Regions from separate parts of the Homo sapiens genome. Here regions 1, 2 and 3 are each linked to region 4. Evidence: promoter capture Hi-C in 16 types of primary human blood cells and fetal thymus (Javierre and others, 2016). All regions are on one chromosome and are shown on one strand. Each heading gives the region's core, a stretch centred on a gene start or on the middle of the fragment in contact. The rest is flanking DNA. Distances are from core to core; before and after follow the strand shown. Region 1 holds the start of TMEM167B (transmembrane protein 167B). Region 2 holds the start of PSMA5 (proteasome 20S subunit alpha 5). Region 3 overlaps ATXN7L2 (ataxin 7 like 2). Region 4 holds the start of CELSR2 (cadherin EGF LAG seven-pass G-type receptor 2).

What was found. Contacts are between HindIII fragments. The CHiCAGO score rates a contact against its expected background, and 5 or more counts as called.
Region 1: the fragment with the promoter of TMEM167B here is called in contact with the fragment with the promoter of CELSR2 in region 4 in 2 of 17 cell types (M0 macrophages and M1 macrophages); the score reaches 5.9 in M0 macrophages.
Region 2: a contact is called between the fragment with the promoter of PSMA5 here and the fragment with the promoter of CELSR2 in region 4, in 1 of 17 cell types (fetal thymus). The highest score is 6.8, in fetal thymus.
Region 3: a contact is called between a fragment that was not itself captured here and the fragment with the promoter of CELSR2 in region 4, in 9 of 17 cell types (fetal thymus, total CD8 T cells, naive CD4 T cells and 6 more). The highest score is 11.9, in fetal thymus.

The regions. Positions count from the first base shown.
Region 1 is chr1:109,086,557-109,093,007 of GRCh38, forward strand. It overlaps TMEM167B (transmembrane protein 167B), which reads left to right and starts at 4,208. Exons shown (of 3, transcript NM_020141.4): 1 at 4,208-4,326; 2 at 6,334-6,451. The coding sequence starts at 4,317. It also overlaps the pseudogene NDUFB3P1. RefSeq lists an enhancer at 3,842-4,041. The HindIII fragment of the contact is 3,338 bases long and covers 1,445-4,782 here.
Region 2 is chr1:109,424,685-109,431,039 of GRCh38, forward strand. PSMA5 (proteasome 20S subunit alpha 5) reads right to left here and starts at 1,764. Exons shown (of 9, transcript NM_002790.4): 1 at 1,618-1,764. The coding sequence starts at 1,646. RefSeq lists enhancers at 1,827-2,758, 2,265-2,324. The HindIII fragment of the contact is 5,034 bases long and covers 1-3,388 here.
Region 3 is chr1:109,485,091-109,491,456 of GRCh38, forward strand. ATXN7L2 (ataxin 7 like 2) reads left to right here. Exons shown (of 11, transcript NM_001350175.2): 2 at 967-1,032; 3 at 1,416-1,520; 4 at 1,917-2,127; 5 at 2,428-2,714; 6 at 3,293-3,375; 7 at 3,757-4,010; 8 at 4,840-5,038; 9 at 5,181-5,302; 10 at 5,832-6,366. Among named protein-coding and RNA genes, the nearest start is that of ATXN7L2, 4.4 kb to the left of the region's middle. RefSeq lists a silencer at 5,767-5,816. The HindIII fragment of the contact is 440 bases long and covers 1,501-1,940 here.
Region 4 is chr1:109,247,259-109,253,563 of GRCh38, forward strand. It overlaps CELSR2 (cadherin EGF LAG seven-pass G-type receptor 2), which reads left to right and starts at 2,281. Exons shown (of 34, transcript NM_001408.3): 1 at 2,281-6,131. The coding sequence starts at 2,822. RefSeq lists enhancers at 1,598-2,318, 5,781-6,305, 5,816-6,305 and silencers at 2,320-2,379, 2,540-2,639, 3,738-3,928. The HindIII fragment of the contact is 8,037 bases long and covers 352-6,305 here.

The DNA.
Region 1 (6,451 bases), core at 2,958-5,457, 160 kb before region 4:
AGGCCGAGGCGGGCGGATCACGAGGTCAGGAGTTCAAGACCAGCCTGGCCAACGTAGTGAAACCCCATCTCTACTAAAAATACAAAACTTAGCCGGACACGATGGCGCATGCCTGTAGTTCCAGCTACTCCGGAGGAGAGGCAGAAGAATTGCTTGAACCCAGGAAGCAGAGGTTGCAGTGAGCAGTGATTGCACCACTGCACTCCAGCTTGGGCAACAGAGTGAGACTTTGTCTCAAAAAAAAAAAATTGTAATTTGCCAATTCATCACTCCTCCTGGTTTTTCAGCTTTGATTTCATCCTTAATTTTTTTTTTCTGTTTATGAGACACAGTCTTGCTCTGTCTCCCAGGCTGGAGTGCAGTGGCGTGATCTCAGCTTAATGCAACCTCTGCCTCCCCGGTTCAAGTGATTATCCTGCCTCAGCATCCCGAGTAGCTGGGATTACAGACAGACACCACCACACCCAGCTAATTGTTGTATTTTTAGTAAAGACAGGGTTTCACGATGTTGCCAGGCTGGTCTCCAACTCCTGACCCCAAGTGATCCACCTGTCTCGGTCTCCCAAAGTGCTGGGATTACAGGTGTGAGCCACCATGCCCAGCCTTTACATTTTATTCTTTTTTTTTTTTTTTTTGAGAGGGAGTCTCACTCTGTTGTCCAGGCTGGAGTACAGTGGCACAATCTCGGCTCACTGCAACCTTCGCCTCCCAGTCTGAAGCGATTCTCCCTCCTGCCTTAGCCACCTGAGTAGCTGGGATTGGAGGCTCACGCCCCCATGCCCGGCTAATTTTTGTGTTTTTAGTTTTGTGTTTTTAGACAAGGTTTCACCATGTTGGCCAGGCTGGTCTTGAACTCCTGACCTCAGGTGATCTGCCCACCTTGGCCTCCCAAAGTGCTGGGATTACAGGCGTGAGTCATTGCGCCCGGGCTTAACTTTTTTTTTTTTTTTTTTTTTTTTTTTTTTTTGTGGTGGAGTCTCACTCTGTTGCCCAGGCTGGAGTGCAATGGCACAATCTCGGCTCACTGCAATATCCGTCTCCCAGGTTCAAGTGATTCTTTCGCCTCAGCTTCCTGAGTAGCTGGGATTACAGGCACCTGCCACCACTCCCGGCTAATTTTTTTGAATTTTTAGTAGACACGGGGTTTCACCATGCTGGCCAGGCTGGTCTCGAACTCCCGACCTCAGGTGATCCTCCCGCCTCGGCCTCCCAAAGTGTTGAGATTACAGGCGTGAGCCCCTGCGCCCAGCTGATTAACTTTTATTCTAACCTCTGAGAATGACAGAAGAGGAAAGACTTGTCTTTCAGAGTATGACAAAAACTGAAGAGGTTTTCATCTAGTTAAAAAAAAATGGGGAGAAAAAATTATCTCTAAAAAGTGAGTGGCATGAGCAAAAATGAGAAAGCAAAGACTGTAACTGAAGAACATAGTCTTTATAGACAAAGCTTAAAGCCCATATAGGGAACAGTGGAAAATACTATTGGAAGGCCTTGAGTAGCAGGCTAAGGACTTAGGCATTATTCAGTAGGTAGTGGTTGCTGTCAAAGGAAACACCAGTGTGGTATGGAGGAAAATTTTCTAGTCCTGATTTCAGAAGGCTGGAATTATTGTGCCAGTGTAATACTTGGCAGTCCTTACCCTAAACCTTGGTTTATTTCTAAAACAGGGGTAATCAGGCAGTTGTGAGGGTTAAATAAGATCATATGACAAGGTGTGTTTGCTTTGAAAATGTCAAAATGTTATAAAAATGTAAGTTTTCATTGTTGTGAGGACATAATTGATACTTAAAGACTACCGATATAGCAAAATTACTAAGGTGATGGCTGTAGGATTACAAGAGGGGCAATTTTTTTTCTTTTCTTTGTTTTTTTTGAGACGTAGTTTCACTGTTGCCCAGGCTAGCGTGCTATGGCAGGATCTCAGCTCACCGCAACCTCTGCCTCCCCAGTTCAAGCGATTCTCCTGCCTCAGCCTCCCAAGTAGCTGGGATTACAGGCATGTGCCACCATGCCCGGCTACTTTTGTATTTTTAGTAGAGACGGGGTTTCTCCATGTTGGTCAGGCTGGTCTCGAACTCCCGACCTCAGGTGATCCGCCCACCTCGGCCTCCCAAAGTGCTGGAATTACAGGCGTGAGCAACCGCGCCCGGCCAAAGGGGGGCAGTTATTATTATTATTATTATTATTTGAAATGGAGTCTCGCTCTGTCGCCCAGGCTGGAGGGCAGTGGTGCTGTCTCGGCTCACTGCAACCTCTCCCTCCCGGGTTCAAGCTATTCTCCTGCCTCTGCCTTCCGAGTAGCTGGGATTACAGGCGCACGCCACCATGCCAGGCTAATTTCTGTATTTCTTTTTTTCTTTTTTCTTTTTTTTTTTTTAAGTAGAGACGGGGTTTCACCATGTGGTCAGGGTGGTCTTGAACTCCTGACCTCAGGTAATCCGCCTGCCTCGGCCTCCCAAAGTGCTGGGATTACAGGCGTGAGCCGCGCCCGGCCAGCTGCTGCTGTTTTAGACAATGGTTGATGAAGGATTCGAAGGCCTAAACAATAGAGCTTTTGTTCTGTTTTGTTTTTGAGTGGTCCTGAACAGTTCTTTTGGGCAGGGGAATTTGTCTGTGTGTGAATGTGCAAACATATATATAATCTGAGTGGCTGCCTGGCCTTGTCCTAGGTTTTGTCCCGTATATACGCCGTCTTTTTTTTTTTTTCTTTCTGCATGTATGTATATTTTCTCAAGGCATCTGTCCTGCACTAGACTTTGGCTTGTCTTTCCAGGCCAGCTTCCAGAGGATGCTTTGGCAGTTTTCCCTCTGGGTAACCAAGCAGGCTGCAGCCAGCAGATGGCACTGCAGCAGAAAGGGGCAGAGTCCCTTTAGGCCCTTGACAAGCACGGCGGATTAGTAACCGTATAATTTAACCCTCCAGTTAGCCTTGGAGGACTCGGTGTCGCACTTCCGCCCGAACTCTAATAAAGCGGGCCGAGTTGTGTGCAATTAAGGATTTCAGTATGCAAATCTGAATCTGTACTTTTGTCTCCTCCACCCCACCCCCATCATTAGACTGGCAATGTCTTTTGTCACGTTGTCAAAGTGTCCTCAGAGAAGCGGTGTCTAGATATCGCCGATTTCTGGTTAAAGTGGCTGAAGTGATCCCAGCATTAATTAAATGCAGGAGAATCGAGATTCTCCTGATAGTTTAAGGAAAAGAAAAATTCACACAAGCAAACGGGCAACCCTTTGAATGTTTTCCGACGACGTGGTGCTTTAGGATCTGAAAGATGCGACTTGGTTTTTGTTGTTGTTGTTGTTGTTGTTGTTGTTTTTGAGACGGAGTTTCCGCTCTTGTTGCCCAGGCTGGAGTGCAATGGCGCGATCTCGGCTCACCGCAACCTCCGCCTCCCAGGTTCAAGCGATTCTCCTGCCTCGGCCTCCCGAGTAGCTGGGATTACATTACAGGCATGAGCCACCATGCCCGGCTAATTTTGTATTTGTAGTAGAGACGGGGTTTCTCCATGTTGGTCAGGCTGGTCTCGAACTACGATCTCAGGTGATCCGCCTGCCTCGGCCTCCTAAAGTGCTTAGATTACAGGCATGAGCCACCGCGCCCGGCTAATTTTGTATGTTTAGTAGAGACGGGGTTTCTCCTTGTTGGTCAGGCTGGTCTCGAACTCCGACCTCAGGTGATCCGCCTGGCTCGGCCTCCCAAAGTGCTGGGATTACAGGCGTGAACCACCGCGCCCGGCCGCGACTTGTTTTTGTTACAAGGTTCCTCATTTCATTTGCAACGTTCAGACGCAGTCTGACTAGATTTCCATCCGGAGTAAGGAAGAGCAGCTCAAGGGCAGTCACGGAGGCCGCAGGTGCGGCTTCTTCACCCGCGGTGCTGGAGTTCTCTCAAGTGGAAGCCCAGGACGATGAAAACCTCATAGGTAGGCTGCTGCTTACACACAGCAGCCGCCACGGCGCAAAATAAACTACAAAACTACAAGCCTTTACCTTTTCAAACACACTGACGCGGGCCAGCCCCAGCCCTACGCCCGCAGGGGCACGCAGAAAAGACTTAGTTACCACGGCCAAGTACGAAGCCTTCGAGATAGCGTTCTTCTTACCCTACGTAAACACGCAGTTTCCCGAGCTCGACAATCGGCTAGCCACTCCTGATAGCGTTCGGCGCTCGCCTCTCGGCCCTTGCTCCTGCGTACTACGGCTTCTTCCAGTCACCTCGGCCCGGATCGGGAAGTGTCAAGCGGGCGCTCCCCCATCTCCGCCGCTATTACCACTGAACCCGGACCCCCTACCCAGGTCCAGGGCCAGCCGCCATGACGAACGGTGAGAACTGATGCCCTGAGCGGAGGGTGGGAGTGAAGGACGAAGGGAAAACGTGGCGGGCGGGGCCGGGACTGACGTGGCCGTTCTCCCCGCCCCCTCCCAGCCCGGCCCCCCTTGGCCTCTCGACGCCCCTAACTTCTGTACCCCTATACTCCTCTACGGGTTCCCCCTTCCCATATTCATCTAGGACCCCCAGTGCCTCTTATGCTCACACCTCGAGTTATCTATCCCTATGCTTTGCTTTCCCTTTTCTTTTTCTTAGTTCTTTCTGGCCCTTGGAGAGGTCAGTCCCAGAGGTACTACTGCTATTTAAACCCGGGGAAGAGAGAGGCTCCTCCTCCCAGCTCCCTGCGTTCTCATGCTTTCGGACCGTAGTTTTGTTGAGAGGGCCAATAAATGACATAGAATATCAAGTCCCACACTTTTGGGGTTGCTGGTGAATGTAGACCCCACAAAAGCTTCTTCTTACGGAAAAATACCGGAAAGATTTCTGATTTTAAAGTCCTGGCGGGGTGATCCCACGTGGAGACCCTGACTAGTGTTGCAAAGGGTGGATTTAGACACTGCCTCTTCTAGATGATGAGGCAGTTTATCTGACCTAATTTTCCAGGCCTCTTCAAACACTTTATGAATTCTGAATTCCAGAGGAGGACAGGAAGGAGGGCCTTCATGATTTTTAGTGTCAACCTTACAGGAAAGGAGAAGAGAAAGCCTTTTAGGCATTACGATGATTTGAGGGGCTCCGGAAAGCATTTCTCAAAAGTACTTTGTCCATAGACCTGGCACTGAAGACTCGAATTTAACCTCCTTGTGAATTTTGGCATTGTCTGCAGAAACTTATGAGAGAAAAGGGGTAGCACGTGAAGGTATAGTTCCTCAGAAAACCTTAGTGTATGTATTAATTTGCTGGACCCTTTCTTAGTGACAGCTTAGCTGTGAGACAGTTTTACTGGAGGAAGAGAGGTAGTGTGATCTAGAACTGGCAGACACTGGTTATATATAATATTCATTTGGAGCTTCCTGGGAAGTCAGAGGTCTCAGGATACTAGGCACAGTAAGAAAAGGGAATTTACCCAGAGGAAGACAGAATCTGAACCAGGAAGTAAGACAGCAGTTTGACACGGTAGTTGCTGAATAAATTTTAGTCATTCTTCCCCCATTTTGTGGTCCAATATCTTCTTGTTTTTTGCAATTAGGTGATTCATTGTGCTTCCCTGTACAAGAAATAAGCTTGGTTTATGTATTTAAGAAACAGAGCTAAGAAGTTAAAGCTTTCTATGTTGAAGCCTTAGATACTTTTTCTTTGTTTTAGAAAAATCTGTTATTATTCTGGCAGAAATTCGGTTTGTTAAGAGTATCATCCATAAAGTGTAAGATAATGATAGGAAAATTGTAGTCATGTGGATTCTTACTCTTGCAACTTTCATTAAGCTTAATTTTTTGCCTTAACATATTCTTCACCAACAGTTGCACATCTGACAGTTTTGGCTACATATCTAGCTCTCCTTTATCATATGAGTGATTTATAACAAGAACATGTTAAATTCTCTGTGCTGAGTCTCTAAGGATTCATATGTCTCAATCTATTGCCAACACTAGTCATTCCTGGGATGCTAATTTCTGCCCAGGATTTCTACTTCTTGAAAGGTGAGGGGAAGGACCAGTGACATTTTAGTAAAGGGGATGTAAAAAAAAAAATTTTTTTTTGAGTTGGGGTCTCACTCTGTTGCTCAGGCTACAGTGCAGTGGCATGATCGTAGTTCATTGCAGCCTCGAACTCCTGGGCTCAATTGATCCCCCTTCCTCCTACAAGCAATTTTTGGGAACAGTAAAATAATCGTGTTAGTCCCAGGATCCTGGCTCCCCCTTGTCAAGTGTCAGTACTGCCTGTTGAGGTTATTATTTTGTTATTATGTCACACACTATCTTCCTTAGAGTTCTCAGGCGGGATCACAGGTCCGACGCTAGATCAGTACCTAAGGTTTTCTTTTCTTCTTTATTTAACAGTGTACTCCTTGGATGGGATTCTGGTGTTTGGTTTGCTCTTTGTTTGCACCTGTGCCTACTTCAAGAAAGTACCTCGTCTCAAAACCTGGCTGCTATCAGAGAAGAAGGGTGTTTGGGG
Region 2 (6,355 bases), core at 514-3,013, 180 kb after region 4:
AATTGCTTAAACCCAGGCGGCAGGCCAGGCGCGGTGGCTCACTCCTGTAATCCCAGCACTTTGGGAGGCCAAGGCAGGTGGATCACGAGGTCAAAAGATCGAGACCATCCTGGCCAACATGGTGAAACCCTGTCTCTACTAAAAATACAAAAATTAGCTGGGAGTGGTGGCGCGCGCCTGTAGTCCCAGCTACTCGGGAGGCTGAGGCAGGAGAATCGCTTGAACCCAGGAGGCGGAGGTTGCAGTGAGCCGAGATCATGCCACTGCACTGCAGCCTGGCGACAGAGCGAGACTCCGTCTCAAAAACAAACAAAACCCAGGAGGGGGAGGTTGCAGTGAGCCAAGATCACGTCACTGCACTCCAGCCTGGGCCACAGAGCGAGACTGTCTCAAAAGAGTCTCCTATATGCGAGCAAGGAGCTTGATTTTGTCCATTGCTGTAGCACCAGCACCTAGAACAGTGCCTTGTTCACAGCAAGCACTCAAGCACATTAACTAAGAGAATAAAAAGGGATGTATTTTAGGCCGTCTTGGGAAGACAGAAAAATAAGTAACAAAGCAGTCAATACATATGTTAAGTAAATGGCCACAAAATTTAATAAATGCCTTCTGATAAGCATAACAATTTCTATCATACACACCCTAACTCAAAATTATGTCACCCGAAGATGATTCTCTTCAATGTTCTGGAAGTTAAATATCGACCAACAAAGTCACTTTATAGGACAGTGGGGAAATATGTCAAAACTTCACACACATCTTCTACGAGTCAGTAAAAAAGATGAAAAAGTGGTAACTGCAGGTGGTAAAACTTCGACAGGATCAGCATATACTTGACAGGAAATGCAGCATCTCATACCACTCAGTACAAAGAAAATGTCTGCCTTCCCTGACTTTAAAAAAGAGTAGCTATGTAAAAACTTAACTGACGAAAACAGAAACTGAAAGTAAAAATGTCTACAGCATATATATGTACAACTTAATATTGTGAACATTTTCATACCACAAAAGTTTTTTAAAACTTGCTTTAAACTTTTAAAAAGTCAGAAAAAATTTTGGTCAATTGGAATCGGCATGATGAGAAATCTCTTGAAAACCATTCTAAATTCCAGTTCCTATAAAATCAGACTCCAGACAATATATCCAGCCAAAGCTACGACTGCCTTCGCGCTTCTGAAGAAACTATACACCGCAGCATGCCCTACTACAAACCAGTTGCTTTTTCTTCCAGGAAGCACGTTTAACTTTTTGTTTGTTTGTTCAAGGCAGTCATACTAGGCACGAAAAGATGAACGGAGCAAAGAGTGACCCTTGGCCTTCTCCGGGTTCAAGGTAGGAGTTCCGGCTCCTCACGCCTTCTTTACCAAGCACCAGCCGGAGCTTCTCGCTTCCGCACCGAGTTAGGACCCAGGGGTGACTCAGCGGTAGGACAAGTGCCGCCGATGTGGTCTAGCTTGGGGAAGGACGGCGGGCGCCTGAGGAGGGCATAACATCCCCAGGTCCGGCCAGTCTCGGGTTCCTGGGGAGCCCCATGACACGGCAGAACCCAGGCCGCGCGGCCAGGTCCCGGGCCTGCCCACCCATAATTCCCACCCGACGTCCCCCAGCTGCACGGACCTGTCGTACTCAGACCGGGTAAGAAACATGGCGAGGGTAGGAGGAGGCAGCGGCTACGCGGGGATTCTGAGGACCAACACGACTCCACCGGCACCCAACTCACCGGCAGCCAACTCACCCACACGGCCGCAGTACTAAGGACCAACTGCGCGTGCGACCGCGACCTCTTTAGCCCGCCCTCCTGTGCCTGCTTCCTATTGGCTGGTAGTAGTTCCCGCCTAGGTGATTGGGCCAACGCGCTTCCTCACGAGGGCTTGGTTGGTCCGGAGGAGGAGGAGGACCAGGGAGGTACTTCCGCCTTAAATCGCGGGTGGTTGCTAGGGACGATAGGCACCCAAGGCGTGTAGTGAGTTCGCCTTGTAGAGAAGATGTGAGCCCGCCCCAAGACTGGCAATTGGAAAGGCTTGCATGCAGAGCTGGGTTGTCTGAACCCTGACATAATAGGTCCCTCGCCGGCTCCCGTAATCCCAGCTAGAGGACTTTGGTCCCGTTTCCGGCAAGGCCACCACCTGACTTCTCTTCGCAGGATTCCCTCTCTTAGGGTTCCTCCACGGTGTTCTCCATGCCCGGTCGAGGGCTCCAGGACTTTGGGCGGTAATGAGTCGGCTACAGTGGGTCTGAGCCGGCGCCGCGGACGAGTCCCTTCGTTTCAGCCAGTTTGGCTCGTTTATTGAGAAAAGTGGGGGGCGAGGGGTTAGTATGTAAGAAAGTCTTAAAGTTTCCACATGGTTAAGGTAATTTTATCAACTCTTTCTTGCACCCCTCCCCCTAGTACAGGTTTCAGACCTAAATAACCTAGAGTTCAGGATCCAGACTTCAAAATATTCACTGCTTTTTCTGTTGTTTGTGAAAAATAAGTGTTTTCTTTGAGCCCAGATCGTGCTATTGCACTCCAGCCTGGGCAACAGCCAAACCCTATCCGAAAAAAAAAAAAAAAAAAAAAGCGCTTTCTTTTTCGACGCTTCTTGCTTCCCTTCAATAAGTTGCTTGAGGAGCAACTTTGCAGCTTCGTAATAACACTGTAATTCAAGTATTTGTTCAAGAAAGGCAAGTAAGAAGTCTTGGCACGGGGGTGGGGAATATAGGGAAATGTTGGTCAAATGATACAAAGTTTCAGTCAGAGAAGGTGGATGAGTTCTATAGTTAATAATCATATATTGTGTACTTGAAATTGTGAAGAGGGTACACCTTAAATGTTCTCACCACAGGAAAGTATGTGAGATGATGGATTATGTTGATTAGCTTCATTTAATTATTTGCAGTGTGTGTGTGTATATATATGTATATCAAAACGTCACGTTGTATACCATAAACATGAACAATTTCTATTTGTCACTTACACCTTAAAGCTGGAGTCGGGGGAAAGAAATCATTTATCAGGCAGTATATGCTGGAAAGGGAAATGCCAGCATCTCATTTCCAGTTGTTAATGTGATACCACTAGTCAAGTCCTTAACCTCTCAAGGCCTGTATCTCTCCAGTAAAGTTCATTCTTGGTCCTAGATTAGGTTTGTAAGTCACCAAGGCATTTCAAAGGTGCAGGAAATGTAAAAATAAGCCTTTTGAGTATTAACCAAGATTAGTTTTCCCCACCCTTTATTTTCTGACTTCCTTCATGGATTCAGTAGGAGTTTAGTTTGGTCATCCCTGGCCAATCAGATGTTTAGCACTAATAAAACTGAGGAAGAACTCCAAGTAGCAATCCTCTGGGATCTGTTAGATTTCTGAGAAAAGAATGGTAATTTTTAGCTTTCTTGTCAGCTTTCTGACAAGCTTTTTTTTTTTTTCACCTTATCAGTTATTTTCTATGGAAAAGTCTTGGTCGTAAATTCACTACAGCTGCTCTTTAGAAGTTCTTTTATGGCCAGGCACAGGGGCTCACGCCTGTAATCCCAGTACTTTGGGAGGCCGAGGTGGGTGGATCACGAGGTCAGGAGTTCAAGACCAGCCTGGCCAAGATGGTGAAACCCTGTCTCTACTAAAAATACAAAAATTAGCTGGGCGTGATGTTGGGTGCCTGTGATCCCAGCTACTCGGAAGGCTGAGGCAGAGAGTTGCTTGAACCTGGGAGGCAGAGGTTGCGGTGAGCCAAGATCTCACCACTGCACTCCAGCCTGAGCAACAGAGTGAGACTCCATCTCAAAAAAAAACCAAAAAAAACGGAGTTATTTTACTACGTAGGTACTTTAGCATAATATTTCCTGAGCACCCAGGGTTCCATGGTGCTCTGCAGACCCTATCAATGTCAGAGACAGTAGTGAATTGCTTACGAAATGTTCTTGAATGTAGAATCTCCTCTGGGTAAATGTGTTTGTGCTATATATAACATAAATGAAGGGGAGCTGCAGGTAATTGTGGATAGGAAGGAAAATCTTTTCTCCCAAGAGAGTGCATTGTAACAATCTAGCAGCTAGCATAATGTGTCTTTGAAAGAAATAAAATGAGAAATTAGCTATTTAAAAGTAATTGAAGTTAAAATGTGTGTACGTACAAAGGAATATTGTTCACCCTTTAAAAAGGAATGAAATTCTGATACATGCTACAACTTGGATTAGACTTGAAGACCTTATGCTAGGCGAAATCTCAAGACACAGAAAGACAAATATTGTATGATTCTACTTATGTTCGGTACCTAGAATAGTCAAATTCATAGAAACAGAAAGTAGAATAGTGATTATCTAGGGCTGGAGGAAAAGGGGAATGAGGAGTTAATGGGTTTAATGGGTACACCATTTCAGTTTGGGATGATAATGAAGTTCTGGAGATGGATTGTAGTGATGGTTGCACAACAGTGTGAATGTATTTAATGTCACTGAATTGTACACTTAAAAATGGTTAAAATGGTAAGTTTTATGTTAGGATATTTTACCACAACAGAAATAATTTTTTAAGTTAAAGGGGGGAAAAAGGAAAATAATGGAAATGTGAGTTCTTTGAGGGTCAGTACTCTCTTGTTCAGCCTAGCACCTGGCATATGCTCTAGATACATTTGTTTAGTAAATAAGTATTTATTTTTTTAACTTTTATTTTAAGTCCAGGGTGTATGTGCAGGATGTGCAGGTTTGTTATATAGGTAAACGTGTGCCATGGGGATCTGCTGTACACACCATTTCGTCACCCAGGTATCAAGCCTAGTATCCACCAGTCATTTCTCCTGATCCCCTCCCTCCTGCCACCCTCCGCCCTCCAGTAGGCCCCAGTATGTGTTGTTCCCCTCCGTGTGTCCATGTGTTCTCATCATTGAGCTCTCACTTGTAAGTGAGAACATGTGGTATTTGGTTTCTGTTCCTACATTAGTTTGCTAAGGATAATGGCCTCCAGATAAGGATTGATTGATTGATTGATTGCTATAGGCATACTAGTTCCATAGACATTAATATATGTGTGACTTGGAGAAGTAGAGTAAGTAGAAAATTCAGAATTTCAAATAGCCACTTTAAAATGTTTTTAAGTACTGTATTTCTTTAAATTTTTTAAATAAAATAGACAAAAGTTTGGTTGGCTACACCTTTTTAGGTGAAATATACTGAGAGATGCGGACTCTTCCTCATTGGAGAAATGTAAGTTATTTAGACATTAATAAAAGTTCTGCGTTCACCCATAGAGTGAGAGTTCTCAAATATTTTGGTACTATTTTGCACATTTTTGCAAAGAAAGGAAGATCATCCTTAATTGAAAGCTGCCATGATTATTTTACAGATGAAACAAACTGTATTGCAGTAAAGATACTTTTTCAACTATAGATTGGAAGCTGTGTCATTCTACTGGAAGTAAATGAAGTAGTTTGGTAAAGTTAATAGCCCGATAAATGTTGAAAATACTCACATTTGTTAGCAAACATCATATATGAGTACTTTGTGTCAGACATTCCTGGGTGAGGCAGAAAATATGTGGAGAATTTAAAAAGTGATTCCAAATAAATTTAGGTCCCTTTGCTCTTTCTAAATATTACATTCCCCAAATCCATTTATCCACATTTATCTCTAGTAACTACAATTTGTTTATGTAAAAAGACATTTTAGATTTGGCTGCTTCCCTGTGTGTCATTTTTTACTTCAATCACTTTGTAGAGTATTTTTAAATAACAAAGGTTTTTAACTCAAGGATATAGAGAGGTTTAGCTAGCTTTGATTCTTGCAAACCCCTGAAGAAATAGAAAATGAACAGTTCTGGCCAGTGACTTAGCATGGCAAGAGTACTAATGCAGGCCCATTGCTGCATAATCTGGGACTACTCTAATGGGAAACTTTGGCTTATAGACGCCCCCATCAGCCTAGCTGAAATTTTCTTAGAACTGCGCTGCAGTCTGAGACCCTGCCTGTGCAATCCTTTCTTTTCTCTCTCCTTCATAGGTGCCAGACTTATATCACAGTCTGGAGCATCTCCCACCTTCTCCTGCTCTCATCCCTTTTATCCTTCATAGATGTTTCTGCCAATTGATCTCTTACATGTTTTTATGGGCTAAATTGTGTCTTGCCCCAAATTCAGAAGTTAAAGCCTTAACCCCCAGTATCTCAGAATGTGACTGGAGCTAGGACCTTTAAGGAAGTGCTCAAGTTCAATGAGGCTGTTAGGGTGGGCCCTAATCCAGTCCTGACTGATGGTTTTATAAGAAGAGGGAATTTGGATACACAGACACCAGGGGCAGGTGCACACAAGAGAAACGGCCACGTGAAGACACAACAAGAAGGTGGCCATCTGCAAACCAAGGAGAGAGGTTCAGAAGAAGCCAGACCTT
Region 3 (6,366 bases), core at 471-2,970, 240 kb after region 4:
AGTGGGAGCCCAGGCCACCCTGGGGCTGCCCCATGCTGGGTGGGCAAAGATGGGGCCATTGTCAGGGTCTGGGTGCATTGAGAACCGGAAATGGAGTCAGACGGGTTTGGTGACTCAGAATTGATTTTTTTTTTCCCAAGGGACAGGGAGGGGGCGTAGAGGAGGGAGGGGGGAGGAGAGAGGTAGGGGGATGGGGAAAAAGCTGCTTTGCACAGCTAAGATGTTTTTGTCATTAACCCAGAAACTGAGGTACAAGGGCAACCCCTGCCCAAAGGCCCTCTAAGAAGGGGAGGGACTTGCATAGCTGACCAAGGAGACTTTGAAGATGCTCAAGGACCAAAGACAGCAGTTTCTCTGCTCTGTGACCATCCTATCAGTGCAGGACCTGAGAAGCTGGGTGTAACTTTGACAATGCTATGGTAACCCAGGTGGAGCAAAATTGAGTTCATGGGGGTGGGGACCTGGGAGAGTATCTATTTGGGATGCCACATAGTAGCAGAAAGGACCCATCGAGAAATCTCAAGAAGAGACTCAGGGACTTATAGAAACATTGGTTAAGGACGGTTTCCCCTTTAAATGGGGAAGCAGGCCCAGAAAAGAGATGATACTTACCCACAATCACCCAACTAGTTAGCAGTGGAACCCTAAACTGCACCTTGAAGTGAAGGGTCCCATAAGAAAGGTGGATGGATTCTTCTTAGTGGGGCCATCTTAGTCCAGATGCAGCAGGTGAAGGAAGATGGGCATTTGAGAATGGACCCACTGAAAGGTTCCCCAAGTGGTCCTAGCACCAGGAGCTTGTCACGGAGTGTGGGCTTCATACTGTTGAGCTGCAGGCCCTGCTTGGGGCTTCTGGAAAGGGGACAACCTCTGGGTTGTCTTCTGGGAAGAACAGTCTCTGGTAAGGAGAGGCTGGAGACTCTCTAAAACTGGCCCTGACCCTTCTGAGCTGTGTTTCTCCTCTAGGGGCTGAGCTGGAGGAGAGTAGCAAAAACACGAAGAAGTTGGATGCCATGACCCTCATTAAAGAAGGTGGGAGTCGACACACATTAGGGCTGGGACCCAGGGCAGACAGGACCACGCTCCACTTTTCCACCACACTACAGAAGGAGGTGGCTGCTTGAAGCAGCTGTCTGGGGACCCTCATTTTGATAGGTCCGAGTCGGCCGGTTGTTCTGGCTCCTGTGACCTGTCGTTGGAGATCATAATCATAGGTGATTGCCCACTCACCTGAAAGCGTATACCCTTTGGGACTGCTTAGATCGAACTCTGGAAGCTGGAAGCATTCAGCATGGAGCTTGTTATATCAGCGGGGAGGTGAAGTGCCTTCTGAGTGTGGGGTGGGAGTGCTCTCCGATCTTCCAGAGAAACCCTGGGATCTTCAGCCCCAGTGACATGGGCTTCTGTCATTGCAGACATGTCCATCTTCGGGCACTGCCCTGCCCATGATGACTTCTACTTGGTTGTGTGTAACCACTGCAGCCAAGTGGTGAAGCCTCAAGCTTTCCAGAAGCACTGCGGTGAGGGGAGCCCTAGGGAGGAGATAAAGGGACAGGGGAAGGTGGAGCATGGAACTCTGAGGACAGGGTCAGTTGGGAGGTCTCGTAGGGTAATGGAGGGTGGTGTTGAGGATAGGAAGGTTGTGGGGGTGGCTTCAGAGCATTGTGGGGAGTCGGGTTATTGTTTGAACAAAATTCTAGCATCCAGTGGAATTACGGGAGGAGTTAAGACATTCAGGAAGCTGGGTCTTGAATTTTGAGTCCTAAAGGCTCAGATTCAAATGGGAAGGAGGCATGTTTACAATCTAATTTATGGAAACTCAGATTCTCTCATGTGAGTCTATGGACATGGTTAGGTTGGGGAAGGAAGTGGTGATACCACTCACCTTGATTATTCTTTCCACCTCCTGGTGACAGAAAGAAGACATGGGCCCCTCAGCAAGCTTTATGGCCGGGCCCCACCCCCACCTCCAGCCCCTGCCAGCTCTCAGAAATGCCATGTAGTGAATGGGCAGGGCCCAGCTTGTAGGGCCCCAGGTTCCACGAAAACCTCCTCCAGGGAGAAGGGCCAGGGGTCCCGGAGCCGTGGCCACCAGCCTCCTGAGAAGACCCAGAAGGACAACCTCTGGTAAGGAGAGGCTGGAAACTTTCTAAGACTGGCCCTGACCCTGACCCATGGATGGGCTGACATCAATACAGACAGCCCTGGGTCAAGGCATACTCCTCACAGCAGGAGGCAGCCGTCCTGTCTGCAGCTTCCTTCCATATATTCCAGGGAAGATGGGGTCTCCTCTTCCCGTGTTTCACACCCCTGCTGGAGCCCACCCAAATTCCAGGGCTGGGAAAGAGATGGCTCTGGGCTAGAGTCCAGGCCCCAGGCCTCGCCTCCCCTCCCCTCCCTCAGCCAACCCCCTCTCTCTGTGTGTAGCCTTTTCGTGCCTGTGGTGAATCTGGAGAAGATGTCCAGTCTCCCGAAGCCTGATGGACATGGAATCAGGGTGGCCCCACCCTCTGCTTTTCTCAGCCAGCCAGGGGGCCTCACCAAGGACTCCCCTGGAAAACCTCCCATGGCTCCCCCTTCTAAAGAACCTCCTGGCAGAGAGAACATCGAGATCATCCCCAGTGAGGGGTCCAGTCACTGGGCTGAAGGCAGCCCTCCTGAAAAGGAGCCCAGTGGGACCAGGCTGCCCCCTAAAACCCACCGGAAGATGGCTCGTGAGTAGTTGTGGTCTTGGGGGTCCAGAATGTAGAGTGGGGACTCCTTTGGGCTGCTTTGTCCTTGGGCTGGATGAGGAGGAGGTCAGGTTTATGGGCCTGGCCATCACAGGTTGTAGGGTATAGGAGCCCCGTCACCTCTTGACCTGCTTGCTTCCTGGGAAGCTTCTCTCCATCCTGTGTCTCCTGATCAAGGCTGAGGGAGCCCATGCCCAGGAGGTGAAGTTCTTTCTCACTCTTTTCTCACCTAGATCCAGGGCGCCAGCCAGACACATCTCACAGCTGGCTTCTCTGGCCTCCCAGATGCCCATGGCTGCTTTTGTTTCTTGATGTGTGTTGCCCTGCTTTGGGCTTGAAGTCCCAAAAGGCGCACCTGAAATTGGGATAGGGATGGTTCTCACACCCAGCAAGGAGATGTTGATGCCCAGAAGTTTATCTGGAAGGTACAGCCCCAGGCTGAGGGCTGGAGTCTCTTCTGCCTTAGTACCAGTTCTCAGGCCCTTGGCAGGAAGCGGCCAAATCCTCCTGTAAACTCCTGGAAATGGTCTTGAGGTTCATTGGAAGTGCTTTCCCCACAGGGAAGGAGTGCGACCTCAACAGGCAGTGTGGGGTAATAAATCCAGAGACCAAAAAGATCTGTACCCGCCTGTTGACCTGCAAGGTAACCCCCTTCCCACTGCACGGTGAGGGAGGACAGCACAGGGCTTGCCCACTCCTTCCCTGGGCAAAGAGAGGAATGTCGATGTTACTGAAGGTCCAGCTTAAGGGAGGGCAGTTAGGCCCACCCAAGGGAAGGGGAGATGGGTATGCCCCTCCTGGGCAGAAGGTGGGAACAGTGGGAAGGAGGGAGTTTCCAGATTCCCCCATCCCAAAGGAGGGTTTTGGCCCCATGGGGGAATGAAACAAAGACACATGAACACAGCTGCAAATATGCCCACCTCTCTCCCTGCCCCCCAACTTGCCCGGGCCAAAGCACCCTGCCGTCCCTCACCCCTTCTCAGTTCATACCTACTCCCCAGCTCTCCACTCTGCTGTATTCTAGATCCACTCAGTACACCAGCGCCGGGAAGTCCAGGGCCGGGCCAAGGACTTTGACGTGCTGGTGGCAGAGCTGAAGGCCAACTCCCGCAAAGGGGAGTCTCCCAAGGAGAAGAGCCCAGGGCGCAAGGAGCAAGTTCTCGAGCGCCCCTCCCAGGAGCTCCCCTCCTCAGTCCAGGTTGTAGCAGCGGTGGCTGCTCCCAGCAGCACCTTCTCTGTTCGTGCCAAGCAGACCTACCCATACTGTGCACTGCCCAGGTACGTCTAGAATCCAACCCCTACCTCACCTGGGGGTACTTGGCCCCTAAGCCATCAGGGGCCCCTGGAAACAGGCTCAGGGAGTGTCCTGGAAGAGGCACTCCCTCAGCCCTGAGTGTGGGGGTATTCCTGGGGCTCCTGACAGTGGTGTGGAAGCAGGAGACTCCCCTGTTTCCAACCAGGCATACCACAGCACCCCAGCCTCTCGGCAGTGTGCCAGATCCAACACTCAGGATATGAACATTTTCCCAGCTGCCTCCAACAGACCGAAACTTGTCACTGGGGAGCTGAAAGGGTCACACTCCTGGGCAAGGCAGCCCTATGTGTATTCACTCACTGGCCCCTTCGCGTGCAGAGGCTATGCCGGACCCCAGGGAGAGCCTGACTTGCTGAAGGAGACACACATGCATCTCTGCCTGTCACACAAGGGGCAGACACGAAACACAGGCTCAGCTCACAGACAGGCTCACAGGAATATGTGATGCAAGAAGGGGGTTGAGCGAGTTGACTGGGCTGACCAGAGCTGGGTACAGTTTTAACTGTGAAGATTTTCTGGAGGAGGCGGATCTGCAGCAGATTATCCCCTGAGGAGGAAGGGGCTGGGAGGTGAAGGGGCTGGGGAGAGAATCCCTTGGGAGCAGTCTCTCTGTCTCTTACTCTGTGAGCTGTGTCGTTCCCTCCTGTCCTTCCCTTCCCTCTGTCCTCTTCTGATTGCCCTGCAGGGTGTCTGCCCTGGTGCCCTGCTCTTTGAGCTCGGCAGGTTCAAGGATGCCCCTACTCTGACCCCACAACAGTCACATTCCCCTGGCATCCCTTTTGGCCCTTCCAGGTCCCGGGCCTCCTCCGAGAGTGAATTGGATGATGAAGGCCCCTGTGGTGGTGATGGGGACCCAGGCCTGTTCCCCTTCCCCATGCCCCGGGGTGGGACCCAGGCCTCCAGCGAAGAGAGTGAGGAGGAGGGGACATCTGACGACCTCCACCCACCCCCTGACTGCCATTATGCAACCCGGCCCCCACGGCCACAGGCGGTAAGGACCTGGAATAGGGGCCTATGGAGGGGGTGGCCCAGCACTCCTGGCCAACAACATGGGGAGGAGGCCAGATCCTGTGTGCAGATGCTGTCTGTGCACCCCAGACCCTGCCAACCATGCACCTTCCTTCTGCCTTTAGTTCTGCACCTTTGGGAGCCGGCTGGTGAGCCCAGGATGCTATGTGTTTAGCCGCCGGCTGGACCGGTTCTGCTCAGCACTCAGCTCCATGCTGGAACGGCACCTCAGCACACACATGTGGAAGTAAGTCTCTCGGACCCAGAATGGAAGTTCTAGAATGGAAATTCCTAGGTTCCAGACATACTTGGGCTTCAGAAGCCCTGATCTTTCCTGTATACCCATAGGTGTGCCTTGGCTATTTGCCAGCAGGACCCCAGATAGGGAGTAGCATGAAAAGGAGGTGGGAAAACTTGGCAGCCTAGAGTTTGGCTAAGGCAGGGCATGGAAGGGTGGTCTGGGGGTGAATCTAGACTTTCATCCATCACTTCCAGTACCTTTTGGGTAACTAGGGATAGGGGATGCCCAAACCAAGATTTAAAATGAAGTTCCTAGTGGGCTGCCTCCTAGTTAGTAGGTACTAGCTAATTCCTCTCCACAGGCACCCCTGTGTCTTCTTCCTAACCCTCAGTTCCAGCATCTCCCAGCAGATGGCAGCAACTCTGGGGCTCTGCTGACCATTTCTAGGTGGGGCAGAGAGACTGGAGTGTGTCTTGTGTTGGGGGAAGCTGTCTTGTTTCTTGGCAGTCACAGTGGGGCTTTCTTTTTGCTGCAGGAAGATCCCACCGGCAGCTGAACCTCCAGCTCACCTTGTCAACTCCCCGTTATCTGCTCCCCTGAGCCCATCCTCTACAGGCACCTGCCCCCGCCTTCCAGGTCCAACCCTGAGACCTGCCTGCCCAGCCTCCATGCCCCCCACCAAGGACAACCTTGTCCCCAGCTACCCTGCAGGCTCCCCCAGCGTGGCGGCTGCCTGTAGCCAGGCAGAGTGCATGGGCGGGAGCCAGGCTATCACCTCACCACTGCCTGCCAACACGCCATCCCCGTCCTTCAGCAAGCTGCCGCCTTCCAAGGCCAGCAAGTCATCCAAAGGCAAGGACGGGGTGGAGGTGGAGGCCCCTTCTCGAAAGCGGAAGTTATCCCCTGGCCCTACCACTCTTAAACGGACCTGCATCCTGGAGCCCACTGGAAAAGGGAAACCCTCTGGCTGTAGGGGCCTCTCGGCCAAAACTAAAACAGCCCTGAGCATGGGGCTTAATGGGACAATGGGGCCAAGAGTGAAGCGGGCAGGGCCCCTGGACTGTCGTGGC
Region 4 (6,305 bases), core at 1,031-3,530:
GGGCAACCCCTCCCTCATTTGAGACTCTCAGTGATGCATATGAAACTTGGAAATTTCCCTCCTGCTTTTGGGAGTTGGAAGTATCTGAGGAAGTGATGGGGAGAGAGCTCTGTCCTGTGCCCCCGGAGGGAGGACTGGGGAGGATTAAGGACTATTTGCCAAATGTGCTTGGGGATGAAGGAAAGGGTTCCTTGGATCCCCCAACCTATCTGCCTTTGGGTGGAAAGGCCACCCACCTGGAAGGGGCTTCTGAGCTCATGCCTTCCCTGGCAACCCCTGCCTCAAGGTGCAAGGCCCCAGAACCACCTTCCGTGATCCAGAGCCAGGGCTACTCTTTCCTCCCACCCAGAAAGCTTATTTTAGCAACAAAGGGAGCGAGATGAATGGAGAGTTGCAGCTTCTCCACGGGTTGGCTTGGGCCTTCACCAGAAATGAGAGTCTCATTACCCAACCCCAATTCAAAGGATAATTAACAGATGGTATAATTTCCAAGCATTCTCTGCACCACATGGCTATTAGGTGAAGAACAAAATGCCCACGCAGCCCCTAGATCCTTCCAAACTCCAGAGTCTGAGGAAGTCTAGAGAGGCAGAGCCCTGCGGAGGCGTGTAACCCACGCCTCCATCTCCAGAGCTGCCCTTGGCCTTGCTCAGAGGAAGAAAGCTCCTGTTTGGTCAAAGGGGAGGGCATTTCCTTGAGCCATGGGTCCTCCTCCTACTTCTATCCATCCTGCCAGGAGCACAGTCTAACCCTAATCTTTCTTGCTGTACCCAAGGCCCATCTCCTTTCCTGTTTCCCCAGGGGAAAAGAGAAAAGCTGATTTCTCATCCTTGGCCTCACTGTGTGGTCACACAGACACTCCTTGGGCCTGGGGCTGGGGGATCCTCTGCTGTGACCCAGTGAGAGTGGCACCACTGTGACCGGGGGCAGTGGTAGAAGGGAGCACCTGATCCAGTGCTTTTCAGATGGGTTCCTCCAGACCCTCAAGTTGCACAGAGCAGCCCAGGGATTTCTTGGTTGGGGGAGTGGTGGAGAGGGGCAAGGCCCTGACCCCCTCACTTCAACCCAGCAGCACTACTCATCTGTTCTATATTCTGGCCTTCCACTTCAGATTTCTTTTGAAGAAAAGAATTCTACTGCTAAATAAACATTTGAGAACCATTCACCTTATTCAATCCCCTCATTTTACAAAAAGGGACATTGAGGCACAGAATTTGAGCAAGGTCACATAGCTGTGGTGTTGGAGGCTGGGACCCAGGCCCAGGCATCCCCCCAGGCCAGGGCATCCCCCCAGGGACTACCTGACTGGGCCCCTGGCTGCTCCAGGATGTAGGGAAGCCTTTTCTGGGTCGCCTGCACGGCTCCTGCCTGGCTCTCCGTGTGGTCCAGCTTCATGTCTGGTCCTCTTGGAGAACCCCTGGAATCCTGCACACCCTCTCAAATGAAGCTGCCTTGGAGAGGGTCAGGAGCCCGGGTACCAGGTAGGCCTCCTCGCTGGTCACAAAACTGTGGCGGAAGGAGGGGGTAGCCGCAGGACATGGACAGGGAGGCAGGAGGGGATGAGAGGCCGCCTCTCTAGACAGGACCTCAGGGGGCAGTGTAAGCCCCTTGTCTAGAATCCAGGAAGCCTGTGTTAAAGCTAGGCTCCACCGCAGCCGGCCTCCGAATCTGGTGACAGTGTGTTTGCACCACCTGGCTTCCACCCACTCTGACCCTTCTAATTTACTTCCCTGGAAAAGCCCAAGTGGTGTCCAACATGAGGCTGGGGTCATTCTTCCAACAGCCCGACCCCAAGGGGCATGCTGGTCAGACAACAGCCTCGCTGGTGGGGTGGAGGGGACGGTAGGGAGCGAGTGGGCCCGGTGACTCATTGTGGGTGCTTCTCTGGGATTTTGGAGGCTTTGTTGTGTTGCTCAGGGCCCTTTTAACTCTGTCTGACCTATGGGAGGGGACAGCAACGAGGGCTTTTATGACTGGAATGAACTGGAAACTTGGCCTCTGAGAGCCCTTAAAATGTTTTGGAAACCTCTAGGCATACTTAGGGTACTTCCACCATGATTATCATCGGCTGTGTGGCTTCCGATCGCTAATTCGCACCGGGCATCTGGCGAGGCCGGCCTGGGGAAATTGGGATGGAGGGTCCTGCTGGAGGGAATCCTGGCGCTTTGGGCGGAGGAGTGCTCTGGGTGGGGCCCACCTCCTCCAGCGCGGCCGGCGTTGCCGCTTTAAGGCGGCCGCGGCGCGAGCAGGTCTATGGTAATGAGCCGCCGCCGCGACTCTGCAGAGCTCGCCCGCCCGCCGGGGAGGCGAGGGAGCGCGGGGCTGGGCCCGGGGCCGCGGCGACAGGCAGCAGCCGCGGCGGGGACGCGGGGCGCGAGCGGGCGGCGCGGGACCGTCGGGGGCCGCCGGGGCCGGGCCGGGGTCGGGGCGCACGGCTACGCGGGCGCAGGTGGGCGATCCCATAGGGGCGGAGGGGGCACCCCGGCTCCGGAACCCGGGGCCCGGCAAGGCCAGGGGCGCCGCGGGGCCCCCGGGCGCAGGTGGTGAGTGCCCGGAGCGCAGGTGGAGGCGCGGCGGCAGCCCGCGGTGCTCAGGGTGACCCGGGAGCGGGTCTGGCTCAGGGGGCAGTGGGAGCCCGGGCTCGTCGGAGGGTGCAGCGCGGGGTCCCGCCGAGCCATCCAGACGCAGGCCCCGCGGGGCGCACGGGAGGCCCCCGGGGACTGGCGCCCTGGCCCGGGCATGAGGCGCGGCGGGGCCGGCAGGAGCCGGAGGAGGAGCCGCCGCCGCCGTTGACCCGGCCGCCGGCCGGGAGCTGGGAGAGATGCGGAGCCCGGCCACCGGCGTCCCCCTCCCAACGCCGCCGCCGCCGCTGCTGCTGCTGTTGCTGCTGCTGCTGCCGCCGCCACTATTGGGAGACCAAGTGGGGCCCTGTCGTTCCTTGGGGTCCAGGGGACGAGGCTCTTCGGGGGCCTGCGCCCCCATGGGCTGGCTCTGTCCATCCTCAGCGTCGAACCTCTGGCTCTACACCAGCCGCTGCAGGGATGCGGGCACTGAGCTGACTGGCCACCTGGTACCCCACCACGATGGCCTGAGGGTTTGGTGTCCAGAATCCGAGGCCCATATTCCCCTACCACCAGCTCCTGAAGGCTGCCCCTGGAGCTGTCGCCTCCTGGGCATTGGAGGCCACCTTTCCCCACAGGGCAAGCTCACACTGCCCGAGGAGCACCCGTGCTTAAAGGCTCCACGGCTCAGATGCCAGTCCTGCAAGCTGGCACAGGCCCCCGGGCTCAGGGCAGGGGAAAGGTCACCAGAAGAGTCCCTGGGTGGGCGTCGGAAAAGGAATGTAAATACAGCCCCCCAGTTCCAGCCCCCCAGCTACCAGGCCACAGTGCCGGAGAACCAGCCAGCAGGCACCCCTGTTGCATCCCTGAGGGCCATCGACCCGGACGAGGGTGAGGCAGGTCGACTGGAGTACACCATGGATGCCCTCTTTGATAGCCGCTCCAACCAGTTCTTCTCCCTGGACCCAGTCACTGGTGCAGTAACCACAGCCGAGGAGCTGGATCGTGAGACCAAGAGCACCCACGTCTTCAGGGTCACGGCGCAGGACCACGGCATGCCCCGACGAAGTGCCCTGGCTACACTCACCATCTTGGTTACTGACACCAATGACCATGACCCTGTGTTCGAGCAGCAGGAGTACAAGGAGAGCCTCAGGGAGAACCTGGAGGTTGGCTATGAGGTGCTCACTGTCAGGGCCACGGATGGTGATGCCCCTCCCAATGCCAATATTCTGTACCGCCTGCTGGAGGGGTCTGGGGGCAGCCCCTCTGAAGTCTTTGAGATCGACCCTCGCTCTGGGGTGATCCGAACCCGTGGCCCTGTGGATCGGGAAGAGGTGGAATCCTACCAGCTGACGGTAGAGGCAAGTGACCAGGGTCGGGACCCGGGTCCTCGGAGTACCACAGCCGCTGTTTTCCTTTCTGTGGAGGATGACAATGATAATGCCCCCCAGTTTAGTGAGAAGCGCTATGTGGTCCAGGTGAGGGAGGATGTGACTCCAGGGGCCCCAGTACTCCGAGTCACAGCCTCGGATCGAGACAAGGGGAGCAATGCCGTGGTGCACTATAGCATCATGAGTGGCAATGCTCGGGGACAGTTTTATCTGGATGCCCAGACTGGAGCTCTGGATGTGGTGAGCCCTCTTGACTATGAGACGACCAAGGAGTACACCCTACGGGTGCGAGCACAGGATGGTGGCCGTCCCCCACTCTCTAATGTCTCTGGCTTGGTGACAGTACAGGTCCTGGATATCAACGACAATGCCCCCATCTTCGTCAGCACCCCTTTCCAGGCTACTGTCCTGGAGAGTGTCCCCTTAGGCTACCTGGTTCTCCATGTCCAGGCTATCGACGCTGATGCTGGTGACAATGCCCGCCTGGAATACCGCCTTGCTGGGGTGGGACATGACTTCCCCTTCACCATCAACAATGGCACAGGCTGGATCTCTGTGGCTGCTGAACTGGACCGGGAGGAAGTTGATTTCTACAGCTTTGGGGTAGAAGCTCGAGACCATGGCACTCCAGCACTCACTGCCTCGGCCAGTGTCAGCGTGACTGTCCTGGATGTCAACGACAACAATCCAACCTTTACCCAACCAGAGTACACAGTGCGGCTCAATGAGGATGCAGCTGTGGGCACCAGCGTGGTGACGGTGTCAGCTGTGGACCGTGATGCTCATAGTGTCATCACCTACCAGATCACCAGTGGCAATACTCGAAACCGCTTCTCCATCACCAGCCAAAGTGGTGGTGGGCTGGTATCCCTTGCCCTGCCACTGGACTACAAACTTGAGCGGCAGTATGTGTTGGCTGTTACCGCCTCCGATGGCACTCGGCAGGACACGGCACAGATTGTGGTGAATGTCACCGACGCCAACACCCATCGTCCTGTCTTTCAGAGCTCCCACTATACAGTGAATGTTAATGAGGACCGGCCGGCAGGCACCACGGTGGTGCTGATCAGCGCCACGGATGAGGACACAGGTGAGAATGCCCGCATCACCTACTTCATGGAGGACAGCATCCCCCAGTTCCGCATCGATGCAGACACGGGGGCTGTCACCACCCAGGCTGAGCTGGACTATGAAGACCAAGTGTCTTACACCCTGGCCATTACTGCTCGGGACAATGGCATTCCCCAGAAGTCCGACACCACCTACCTGGAGATCCTGGTGAACGACGTGAATGACAATGCCCCTCAGTTCCTGCGAGACTCCTACCAGGGCAGTGTCTATGAGGATGTGCCACCCTTCACTAGCGTCCTGCAGATCTCAGCCACTGATCGTGATTCTGGACTTAATGGCAGGGTCTTCTACACCTTCCAAGGAGGCGACGATGGAGACGGTGACTTTATTGTTGAGTCCACGTCAGGCATCGTGCGAACGCTACGGAGGCTGGATCGAGAGAACGTGGCCCAGTATGTCTTGCGGGCATATGCAGTGGACAAGGGGATGCCCCCAGCCCGCACACCTATGGAAGTGACAGTCACTGTGTTGGATGTGAATGACAATCCCCCTGTCTTTGAGCAGGATGAGTTTGATGTGTTTGTGGAAGAGAACAGCCCCATTGGGCTAGCCGTGGCCCGGGTCACAGCCACTGACCCCGATGAAGGCACCAATGCCCAGATTATGTACCAGATTGTGGAGGGCAACATCCCTGAGGTCTTTCAGCTGGACATCTTCTCCGGGGAGCTGACAGCCCTGGTAGACTTAGACTACGAGGACCGGCCTGAGTACGTCCTGGTCATCCAGGCCACGTCAGCTCCTCTGGTGAGCCGGGCTACAGTCCACGTCCGCCTCCTTGACCGCAATGACAACCCACCAGTGCTGGGCAACTTTGAGATCCTTTTCAACAACTATGTCACCAATCGCTCAAGCAGCTTCCCTGGGGGTGCCATTGGCCGAGTACCTGCCCATGACCCTGATATCTCAGATAGTCTGACTTACAGCTTTGAGCGGGGAAATGAACTCAGCCTGGTCCTGCTCAATGCCTCCACGGGTGAGCTGAAGCTAAGCCGCGCACTGGACAACAACCGGCCTCTGGAGGCCATCATGAGCGTGCTGGTGTCAGGTAAGGAAGGGCCCAGGTGGCGCTGGGGTGGGGGTAGCTCGCGGGGATGGTCTGGGCAGCCACTGGAGGTAGGGTGCGATCCAGGAAGCAGCTACAGATCCACCTCCCTGCCCAGTGCCTGGCACAGAGCAGGAGGGGCAAGAGCCAGCTTGGGAAGAAGCCCCAGGAACCCTG